Linked DNA regions of Homo sapiens: region 2 is linked to region 1. Evidence: promoter capture Hi-C in 16 types of primary human blood cells and fetal thymus (Javierre and others, 2016). All regions are on one chromosome and are shown on one strand. Each heading gives the region's core, a stretch centred on a gene start or on the middle of the fragment in contact. The rest is flanking DNA. Distances are from core to core; before and after follow the strand shown. Region 1 holds the start of BSG (basigin (Ok blood group)). Region 2 overlaps DAZAP1 (DAZ associated protein 1).

Region 1 (4,909 bases), core at 92-2,591:
CTCAACAAAGGAAGAAATTTTCTATGAAGCAAGAAAGGATGTCATGCTTTTCTCCCGGAAAAACACACCTCAATCCATTTCCCAAATGCGCTCTCCAAACCACGTTTGCCCACCCTCAACACACGGCCCTCCTAAGACAGCACTGGAAACCGAATGCGGGTCAGAGTCGGCTAAAAACGACTTTCTCACTATTTCCTGCGCTGAATCGGGTGGCCAGGGCCCCCTCACTGTGACCTTGGAACCTCGACTTCCCACAGGGCTGTTTCCTCGCCTGTAAAGGAGGAGGGGCGTTCAGAGACCACCTCATTCTGGGTGCTGAATCCAGGCAGAATCAGAGGGAGATTCCGCCTTCCCTTCCACGCAGGGCCCCTCGAGGGAGCCTGCGAGGTCTTAAGAGTCTGGGAGAACACCCGGGGGCAGGTGCACGCCCTAGGCAAGACGCCAGGGCTAAATCCCGTGAAGAACGGTAATCCCTTCCCGATCCGGAGGGCTGACCCACTCAGAGCCTCCATGTGCTCTTGGAGGACAAAAGCCCCTTTTCCAGAAGGGAGCGCCAAGATGATCGCTCCAGGCCGCACGGGCCCTTGCGGGGGCCCCAGAGAGTCTCAGGGGAGGGTCTCTGACCCTAACACTCGCAGGCAGGGTGGACCCGTCTCCAGATTCCACGCCCAGGCCGCTTTCCCCAGGTCCTGCGGAGTCCAGCCCCAGCAGGACGGGTTGGGCAGGCACCAACCAGCCCCTGACCCCTGGCTCCAGGCCAAAGGGGACGCTCACCCAGGCTTTGGGTCTCCCTTCTCCTGGCCGATGGGACCGGCGGGCGGGCCACCTCCAACCGCCTTCGCAGACGCCCTCACCCAGGAAGCAGGTCACCCCCAACCCCAGGTGACCGAAAAGCAAGACGCCCACCTCCCCTGACCAAGACCGGCCTGGCCAGGACCCCCTGGCTCCCGCCTCCAAGCAGGGAGCTTCACGCCCACACACAGAGGCCGGGCTCGAGGCCGGAGCGCCCGGGGGAGCCCGGCAGGCCGCGCCGGGAGGAACCTCTAGTCCCCCCTCAAACCCTGGGACTTCACCCCCAAGCTCCATGCTGGCGCGGGAAGCCCCCGGGGCCGGCCTTTCGCACCCCAGGCCGCCCCGCGCCGAGGCCCCAGGCTCCCGTCGGCTTCGGGTCGGCACCGCGGCCTCCATTCCCGGCCCCTGCAGGACCGCACCCCCGCCCCCTACCCGCTCCTCACCAGCCCCGGAGGCTCCGTGGGTGCCCAGCAGCGCGAATCCCAGCAGCACGAACAGCGCAGCCGCCATGATTCCTATTCCTCGCCGGTCCTACAACCTCCAACCGCTGCCGCCGCCGCCCGCGGCCGCTATAAAAAGCGGCGGAGGCGCGGACCGGGCGCGCGCACGCACGGCGTCATCTCGGGGGCGGGGCGAGCGCCGGGGACGCCGGTCGCCCCGCCTGCGCACGCGCGCACACGCTCGCATGTACGCGCCGGCTCCGGCAGGCTCACGCTACGGAATCCGGGCGGCGGCGCACGTGACCCGGCGTTGCTAGGAAACGGGAGTGGGGCCTGCGGGGACGCGGCTGGAGCCTGCGCATTTCTTCCTTCCTGCTTTCAAAGTTGCAATGAGCGCAGAGCGGTGCGCCCGAGGGGGTTGAAGCGTTGAAAGTGTGTTACCCAGATTTTATCTGAGTTAAACACGGGCCGGCCGCTGTGGCTCACGTCTGTACTCCCAGAGCCTTGGGAGGTCGAGGCGGGAAGATCGCTTGAGCCCGGGAGCTCGAGACCAGACGCGGCAACATGGCGAGACGCACATCTCTGCCTTTAAAAATGTACATATATATATATATATATGAACGTATTAATAAATTAGGTGGGAGGAAGTGACCTCCTCCGCCCAAATAAAAATACTTAAAGGGCACTTGAATCTGGATCTCAGAAAATGAATAATTTCTTAGTATAAACGTCCTGTGCACCATTTGGTTGGGACAAGTAAGTTCCTCTTCAGAAACTCAACTTCCAGGTCTAAAGTTGTCAATCAACCTTACCCCCTTCTTCTTTCCTCGCAGGTGGCGCGTTTACCCTATTTTAAAAAAGTTTTAAGTTTTAGCCAACCGGGATCAGCTTAGATTGTGGGCGTCCAACCCCAGCCAACAGGGAAAGGACAGAGGAACAGAAGCTCCCTTCCTTTGTCCCGTGTGCTCTGGAGATTGCATCCCACGCAGGCAGCCCCCTTCCGTACAAGTAAAGTGGTCTCGCTGAGAAATTTTCTAAGTGCTGGTTTCTCTTTGCGGGACCGACTCGCCGCCCCCAAATATCCCATTTGGATCCCATTCTGTTTCAGGAGAGGCTGGCGGTTACCTTTCTTGGGGAGACGCGTCCGACTGCTTCATTGTGGGGGCCTCAGGAGCGGAGGATCGGGTCCCGCCCGAGGTGACGCGTAAACCCAGACTCTCAGCAACGCGGGTAGGAAGGACCCTTGAAGTTCCGCGGCGACCACGGTGAGAAAAGTCGCTATTGGGGCGACACAGGTGGGGGCGTCTCTTGGAGGTTGAAAGTGTGTGTTGGAAGTTAAACTCGGAGTCGCAATGCAAGAGGACCGCAGACTAAGCCGAACGCGAAGGGCTAACTGGAAAGGGGCAGGAATGTGGCTACACTGGCGGGAAGAGCCCGTGGCGACGGGAGGGGGATGTGCAGAGTGGGTGGCAGGTGCCATCTCTGCAGATCAGGACCGGCGGGAAACTTGTTTACTGAGACTCAGACGGGGAGGCCCAGAGGGTGAGGAAGTCAGGTTGGCCTTGGAAGTAGGAAACGAAGAACGAGGGCGCTGAACGAGCCAAACCTTTGAAGAGGAACTTGTGAATGAATGAGACGCGCCATATCTTTTGTGTGTGTGTGTGTTGGAGTCTCGCTGTGTCACCCAGGCTGGAGTGCAGCGGCGCGATCTCGACTCTCTGCAACCTCCGCCTCCCGGGTTCAAGCGATTCTCCTGCCTCAGCCTCCTGAGTAGCTGGGATTACAGGCGCGCACCACCACGCCCGGCTAATTTTTGTATTTTTAGCAGAGACGCCCCATATCTAAAGAAGGGTGGGATCCTCTAGACCACCTTCCCCCACTCACCCCTCCGCCCCTCCCAACCCACCCCCTCCGCCCCTCCCAACCCACCCCCTCCGCCCCTCCCAACCCACCCCCTCCGCCCCTCCCAACCCACCCCCTCCGCCCCTCCCAACCCACCCCTCCGCCCCCCCCACCCACCCACCCCACCCCTCCGCCCCTCCCCAACCCGCCCCTCCGCCCCTCCCACCCACCCCTCGCCCCTCCGCCCCTCCCCCACCCGCTCCTCCGCCCCTCCATCCCTCCCCTATAGAACCACCTGGACCTTGCCACCCACATCCCCGCTGGACAGCCACTAGAACATGCCCCTTCCTCAGGAAAGCTCCAACGGGAAACAGAACAATGCCAAAGGGATATTCGAAACTTTCGGCCGGGCGCGGTGGCTCACGCCTGTAATTCCAGCACTTTGGGAGGCAGAGGCGGGTGGATCACGAGGCCAGGAGTTCAGGACTGGCAGCCTGGCCACGATGATGAAACCTCGCCTCTACTAAAAATACGAAAATTAGCCGGACGTGGTGGCGGGCGCCTGTAATTCCAGCTACTCAGCTACTCGGGAGGCTGAGGCAGGGAATGTCTTGAACCCGGGAGGTGGAGCTTGCAGTGAGCCGAGATCGCGCCACCGCACTCCAGCCTCGGCAACAAGAGCGAGACTCCGTCTCAAAAAACAAACAAACAAACAAAAACCCACAGAACTTTCCTTTTGCCTCCTGCTCAAAAAGACCTGCCTCAGCCCTTTTCCCCTTTAGGGAAGGACCACCGGGAGGAAGGGATATTGACTTCGTAAATGCCCCCTTTAACCAGTTCAGAGGTTAGAAATCTAAAAGAACTCAAACCACTGTTAGATGACCCTTTTGGATTCGCGGATCAAATTGACCAATTTCTGGGGCCACAGCTGTACGCTTGGGCTGAATTAATGTCTACCCTCAGTACTCTCGTCTCAGGAGAGAGAGAACCATGATTCACAGGCCGCTGTGTTAGTCTGGGAGCGTGAACACCCCCCGGTCAGAACGTCCTTTCAGCGGAGCGTAAATTCCTGGCCCAAGATCCTGGGTGGGATGACAATGTGACCTAAAAAACATGAGCGATCTCGGAGATGGGATAATTACAAGGATTCGGGAATCAGATCTGCAAACCCAAAATACTTCCCGAGCATTTAACGTACAACAGAGGAAACATGAAGGGCCCATGGGGTTTTTTTTGGAGACAGAGTCTCGCTCTGTCGCCCAGGCTGGAGTTCAGTGGCGCGATCTCAGCTCACTCCAACCTCCGCCTCCCGGGTTCAAGCGATTCTCCTGCCTCAGCCTCCCAAGTAGCTGGGATTACAGGCGCCCGCCACCACGCCTGGCTAATTTTTTGTATTTTAGTGGAGACAGGGTTTCACCATGTTGGCCAAGATGGTCTCGATCTCCTGACCTTGTGATCTGCCCACGTCGGCCTCCCAAAGTGCTGGGATTACAGGCGTGAGCCACCGCGCCTGGCCAGGCCCGTGGAATTCTTAAACAGACTTAATAAACAGATAAGAAAATATGCAGCTGCCGGCTCACGCCTGTAATCCCAGCACTTTGGGAGGCTGAGGTGGGCGGATCATGAGGTCAGGAGATCCAGACCATCCTGGCTAACACGGTGAAACCCCATCTCTACTAAAATACAAAAAAATTAGCCGGGCGTGGTGGGGGCGCCTGTAGTCCCAGCTACTCGGGAGCCTGAGGCAGGAGAATGGCCTCAACCCAGGAGGCGGAGCTTGCAGTGAGCCGAGATCGCACCACTGCGCTCCAGCCTGGGCGACAGAGCGAGACTCC
Region 2 (5,386 bases), core at 2,566-5,065, 840 kb before region 1:
GGTGATCCTCAGCTGCTCGAGTGCCAACCCAGAAGACCTGCGTCGCCCTCAATCTTAACGAGCGACAACAGCAGATTGAAGGCACGCATTTCCTTTCCACGTGGAGTGGAGAACACACAAGGAGGCCGCCCGGCCCAGCCCCTTACCCATCCTTCCTTCGGCCGTGTTCTCTCCGGCTGCATCCCCCGGGGTGTGCATGGCTTGGGGTCGATCTGCAGGAAATTTCAAATCAGCTGGTTGTGAATAAGAGGCTGTTTCTCTAGGAAAGAGGGTGTCAGCACAACAGCAGCCACGGCACAGCAGCCCGGCCCGCCCCGCCCCGCCGGCTCCATTCACCCTGTATCCTCCTGCAATATCCAGCCTCAGCACCAAGGCTTAATCCTTCCCAATCGACCCCACGTTCAAACATACTCTAACGCAAACATCGGTCAGAGTCCAGGAAAAAATGAAGCAGAGGAAGGACAGGGGAGACAGAGAGCGGGTGTGAGCTCCCGGAAGGGCACTTACGTTTCGGCCATCTAGCGTGTGCGGTCTGCTGGCCAGCACCGTCCCCACACAGTTTGGGTCTTTAAATTTGACAAACCCAAAGCCTCGAGACTGGTTGGTGGTTTTATCTTTCATGATAACACAATCTACGACTTCTCCATATTGGGAAAAGTAGCTGCGCAGAGTCTCTGCTCAGAAATCGGGAAGAAAACACAAACACACAGGGCCAGAGCATTAGGCACGTGCCTGGCAGTGCTGCCGGCACGCACACTCCTCCAGTCCACCAGCCACGCACCGAGCGATGCTGCACTGGGGGTGGGGGGTGTACGGGAAGCGCTGGGGAATTCTGCCCAACACACACTTGAGGTCCTCACGTAAATCAGGGGCTGCCAGTGAGCACAGCAGTGGCCAGCGGTTACAACCTGACTTTGTAGGCGTCCAGGAAGGCAACGTTTAAGGCAAGGCAAACAAGACAACTCTGAATGCTGGCAGTGGCCAAGGAGCGCCGACTTTGCTACACACTCTTTCCTCCTATTCTGAACTCAGTAACAGCCTGGCCAGCCCCCAGCCCTCTGCACTTCCAGACAACAGCTGTCTGCCTCCACAAGCCACCTCAGCCCGGAGCTAGGAACCTGCAGCCTGAGGTCTTCCCTGTAACTTGGGATGGAAATACCAAATTAACAGTCTCAGAGCAAATACACACTTACTCTGTCCCCTGCCCAGAAATCAGAACAACGTCAAAAGGACTTTAAAATATCCAAGACAGTAGCAAGAGGCGGGCAGACACAACTTGAAGGCCGAGGTCCTAGAGCCCATCTGCAGTACCCACCTGACACCCCTTCCCCACCTACCTTGGGTCGTGCTCCAGTCAAGACCGCCCACGAAGAGCTTCCTGCGATTCAATGAGAAAACATTCAGGATCAAGACAGCGCTCGCCTTAGAAATGCCCCCATCCAAGCCAAGCTGAGGTCTTAATTCAAACCACAGAAGCAGCTGACGCAAACGTCCTTGTGCACGTGACGGCATACAAAGCTCACAGCAATGGCGAGTCAGCCTCGCCCATGCTGTCTGCAGACATGAAAGATGATCCCAATCCTTGCCATGGGGAGAGGACCGTGCCACAGAGCCGCACGCTGACCTCATGCGTGGCGGGCGATGAGTTCCTGGGACAGGCCAGTGGTGACGGCACCACGCTCACCTGCACTGCTGCCAAGTGGGACACAGGCTCGCTTTCCTACAGCTTTTGCGAGTATTTTATAATCAGGAAAAAGAATGTAGAAGTCTACATCTGAAATGATGCACAGTAAACTAGAAGCCTATGCCACACGGCCTCTGAATTACAGCCTGGGGCGGGGGTGGGGGGACACAGACAGAAGCCTCCCAATGAGCCTGCACTCACGAACTAACGAGAGGCCCACAGATGAAGGTGAAGGCCCTGAAGCTCCAGTCTCAGCACTGGCCCCACTTACTTACCCCCGACAAACCCGCGCCACCCCCATTCTGGGGCTGTCTCTTATTGGCAGATGAGAAGGGCCTGAAATTCAGTCTCAGCACTGGCACTTCCTGCCTGCCCCCACCAAAGACCCGCGCCACCCCCGTCCTGGGGCTGTCTCCTCCGGGCAGAAGAGCTGGAGCTCTCCCAAGGCGTCCGCCATCGACCCTGCAGCGACGCCCAAGGGCCCACTCACCTTTCCACCTCACTGCCGCTCCAGGTGGCCCCAGGGCCTTGGCTGTGCCAACTCCCAATGGGGACTGTGCCAACTCCCAATGGGGACTGTGCCACCTTGAGTCAGCCATGGCACCCACTGGGCATGTCTGAGACACCACAAGGCTTACCCAGGCACGGGGCCTTAGATGTCATTCAAGCTTCCCCCAAGCCCAGGAGGCAGGGAAGAGGTGGTTCTATCGGCGACTCTCCCATCCTGCCTGCTTTCCCTGGGAAAGAGGACACGCATTCAGAAATGAAGTCCCTGAGCTGAATCTCAGCTGTGACTCAGTGCCAGCACCATCATCACCCTTGGTCTCCAGAGAGCAAAACACCGTGCAGGCCAAAGCTCCCACCTGAGCCGCAAGAATCCTGCCAGCCTCACTGAAAGCACCATTCCCACGCGGGGCCCTGTATCCCTGACGGCCAACCACACCACCCTTGGCTTCGGCTTTCAGCAAAAACGTCGCTGTCAGGTTGAACACGTTACTGCCCCACCAGCAGCAGGAGCAACGTGCTCCTCCCTGCTCCTGCCAGCTCGCCAGGAAAGACCCCTGCAAGGTGGCTGGCACACTCATCACCTCTCATCAACCACCACCTGGGGCCTGTACACTCAGCCCCCGCGAGTCAGCCCCTGGTGAAGTGTCTGCCACAGCCAACCGCCAGGAGCTTGTCCCTGTTCCTTCTTTTTTCCCTAAGAACGACTGATTTAAATTTAGTGTGTGAAAAACAAAGCATGTTCCCACCACAGGAAAGGCACCCACTGCCGTCTTCAAAACGTCAACAAGCAACCCCCCAGCCCCGTTCTTCGGTGGGGAGGGCTGAGGCGGGAAGAATTAGAGGCGGGGTGTGCCAGCCGCCCTGTGCTTCCTGACCCTTAGAGACGAGATCTGAAAAGGCAAATTTCAGGGAAAACCATGCTGATCACGCAACAGCAACAGGCTTAGGTTGAGGCCTCATTAACTTAAAATCCTACGTCTCCCACGCACCCTTCGCAATCAGGCCAGGGAGCGTTGAGGTCAGGCCTAGAGACCGTGGGAGGAGCGAGGCCTCCGCGTGCCTCACTCTCCATAGGCTGTGCCTCACTCTCCATAGGCTGTGCCCGCGCTGAGTCAGGGCCAGCCCCGCCCACATCCCTGCCAGCAGGGCCCGGCACCCAGCAGGAGCCAGCAGCAGCCCCCACCCCATGAAGGAAGGGCCCCCAAGCCTGGCTGGAACCGACCGGAAAAATGCTCATTTACACAATCCTTTGGAATTAAAGTTCAAGCAGTTCTCAAAAAAAAAAAAAAAAACAAAACACACACACACACACACACACACACACACACACACATAAAACCCTGAAAACCAAACCAAATCCAAGTCACTTGAAGAAACAGCAGCCTGTAGTCAGCACTGCACCCACCCAACAGCCAGGTAACAGGCAGGTGTCCTCCAAGCAGCCCAGTACCCCCTCCACCCCCACCTCACTGGCAGAAGGAACTCGTCAGACCAGTCCAGTTTCGGTCTTCATTTAAATTTCAAAAATTGTGTATTAAGGGGGAAGGGCTAGAAACGCTCAGCTGAGAAACCTGAAACAGGGCCGGGGGGGTTAGATAACCTGGTATCAGTACTGTCTTTCTCAGCTGGGCGCAGATCACGCCTATAATCACAGCATTACGGGAGGCCAGGAGTTCAAGACCAGCCTGGGCAACGTAACGAGACTCCAGGTGGTGGCAGGCACCTGTAGTCCCAGCTACTTGGGAGGCTGAGGCAGAAGGATCGTTTGAGTCAAGGTCGAGGCTGCAGTGAGCCGTGATTGTGTCACTGCACTCCAGCAGGGGTGACAGAGATCTCATCTCTTAAATAAAATTAAAAAAAAAATAAAAAATACTCTTAAATAAAATTAAAAAAATAAAAAATACTCAAATACAATTTTAAAAAATAATAAATACTTTCTCAATTTTTTTTTGAAAAATTGTCTCGCTGTGTTGCCCAGGCTGGAGTGTAGTGGCGCGATCTCAGCTCACTGCAACCTCCGCCTCCCGGGTTCAAGCGATTCTCCTGCCTCAGCCTCCCGAGTAGCTGGGACTACAGGCGCCCGCCAGCTAATTTTTGTATTTTTAGTAGAGACGGGGTTTCACCATATTGGCCAGGATGGTCTCAATCTCTTGACCTCGTGATCCACCAGCCTCGGCCTCTCAAAGTGCTGGGATGACAGGCGTGAGTAGCTGCGCCCGGCCACTTTCTCAATTTTGATCACTGTGCTGTGTTCATGTGAGAGAATGTCATTGTTCTTGGGAAACAATAGATATCTCAGTGTACACATAAAGGGGACTGCATCGGTCTCCAGCTACTCTCAAATATTTCAGTAGAAACACACACAGTGGGGATGGGTGCACTGGCTCACGCCTGTAATCCCAGCACTTTGCAAGGCTGAGGTGGGCGGATCACCTGAGGTCAGGAGTTCGAGACCAGCCTGGCCAACATGGCAAAACCCCATCTCTACTAAAAATACAAAAATTAGCTGGGCTCGGTGGTGCGCACCTGTAATCCTAGCCACTCGGGAGGCTGAGCTCGAGGTGTACTGCTTGAACCCGGGAGGCGGAGGTTGCACTGAGCCAAGATCAAGCCACTGCACTCCAGCCTGGGCGACAGAGTGAGGGTCCATCTAAACACACACACACACACACACACACACACACACACACACACACAGTTCACTGGGGGTGGGGCAAGAGGCACCACGTGCCAAAGGGTAAAATGTCAGCCAATGGTGAGTCTGGCAGGGCCAAGAGGATATGGGAATTTTTGTAATTTTCCTGTAAGTCAGAAGTTATATATACAATTATGGTATAAAAGACTTTCATTACTGAGAACAAGACAGAATTTCAGTTTCTTTTGAAACAAGTCTCAGTCCTTATGGAATCTGAGACAGCAACAGATAGCTTTCGTTTCACATAGCTGTGTCTGGAGCTCCCCACCGCAGGTGACCCGCCCGCCTCGGCCTCCCAAAGTGCTAGGATGACAGGCGTGAGGCACCGCGCGCGGCCACACTGTGTGTTTCTGTTGAGATATTTGAGAGCAGCTTCTAACGCTAAAGCTTCCTGTGTCCATGTGTCTTTTACTACCACTCAGGAGCCACCGGCGAACACCTTCTCCCTGGTCTACAGACAGAAGCCTCCGGGAAGTCCCGGAAAGCAGGGTCATCTCTTC

What was found. Contacts are between HindIII fragments. The CHiCAGO score rates a contact against its expected background, and 5 or more counts as called.
Region 2: a fragment that was not itself captured here is called in contact with the fragment with the promoter of BSG in region 1 in 1 of 17 cell types (neutrophils); the score reaches 5.6 in neutrophils.

The regions. Positions count from the first base shown.
Region 1 is chr19:569,028-573,936 of GRCh38, reverse strand. It overlaps BSG (basigin (Ok blood group)), which reads right to left and starts at 1,341. Exons shown (of 9, transcript NM_001728.4): 1 at 1,236-1,341. The coding sequence starts at 1,302. BSG-AS1 (BSG antisense RNA 1) reads left to right here and starts at 1,689. Exons shown (of 3, transcript NR_184018.1): 1 at 1,689-1,828; 2 at 2,341-2,497. RefSeq lists silencers at 1,001-1,180, 1,351-1,570 and enhancers at 2,391-2,440, 2,521-3,093. The HindIII fragment of the contact is 7,021 bases long and covers 1-4,909 here.
Region 2 is chr19:1,413,492-1,418,877 of GRCh38, reverse strand. It overlaps DAZAP1 (DAZ associated protein 1), which reads right to left. Exons shown (of 12, transcript NM_018959.4): 2 at 1,338-1,378; 3 at 508-674; 4 at 147-212. Among named protein-coding and RNA genes, the nearest start is that of DAZAP1, 8.6 kb to the right of the region's middle. RefSeq lists enhancers at 1,756-2,350, 2,351-2,944. The HindIII fragment of the contact is 2,921 bases long and covers 2,355-5,275 here.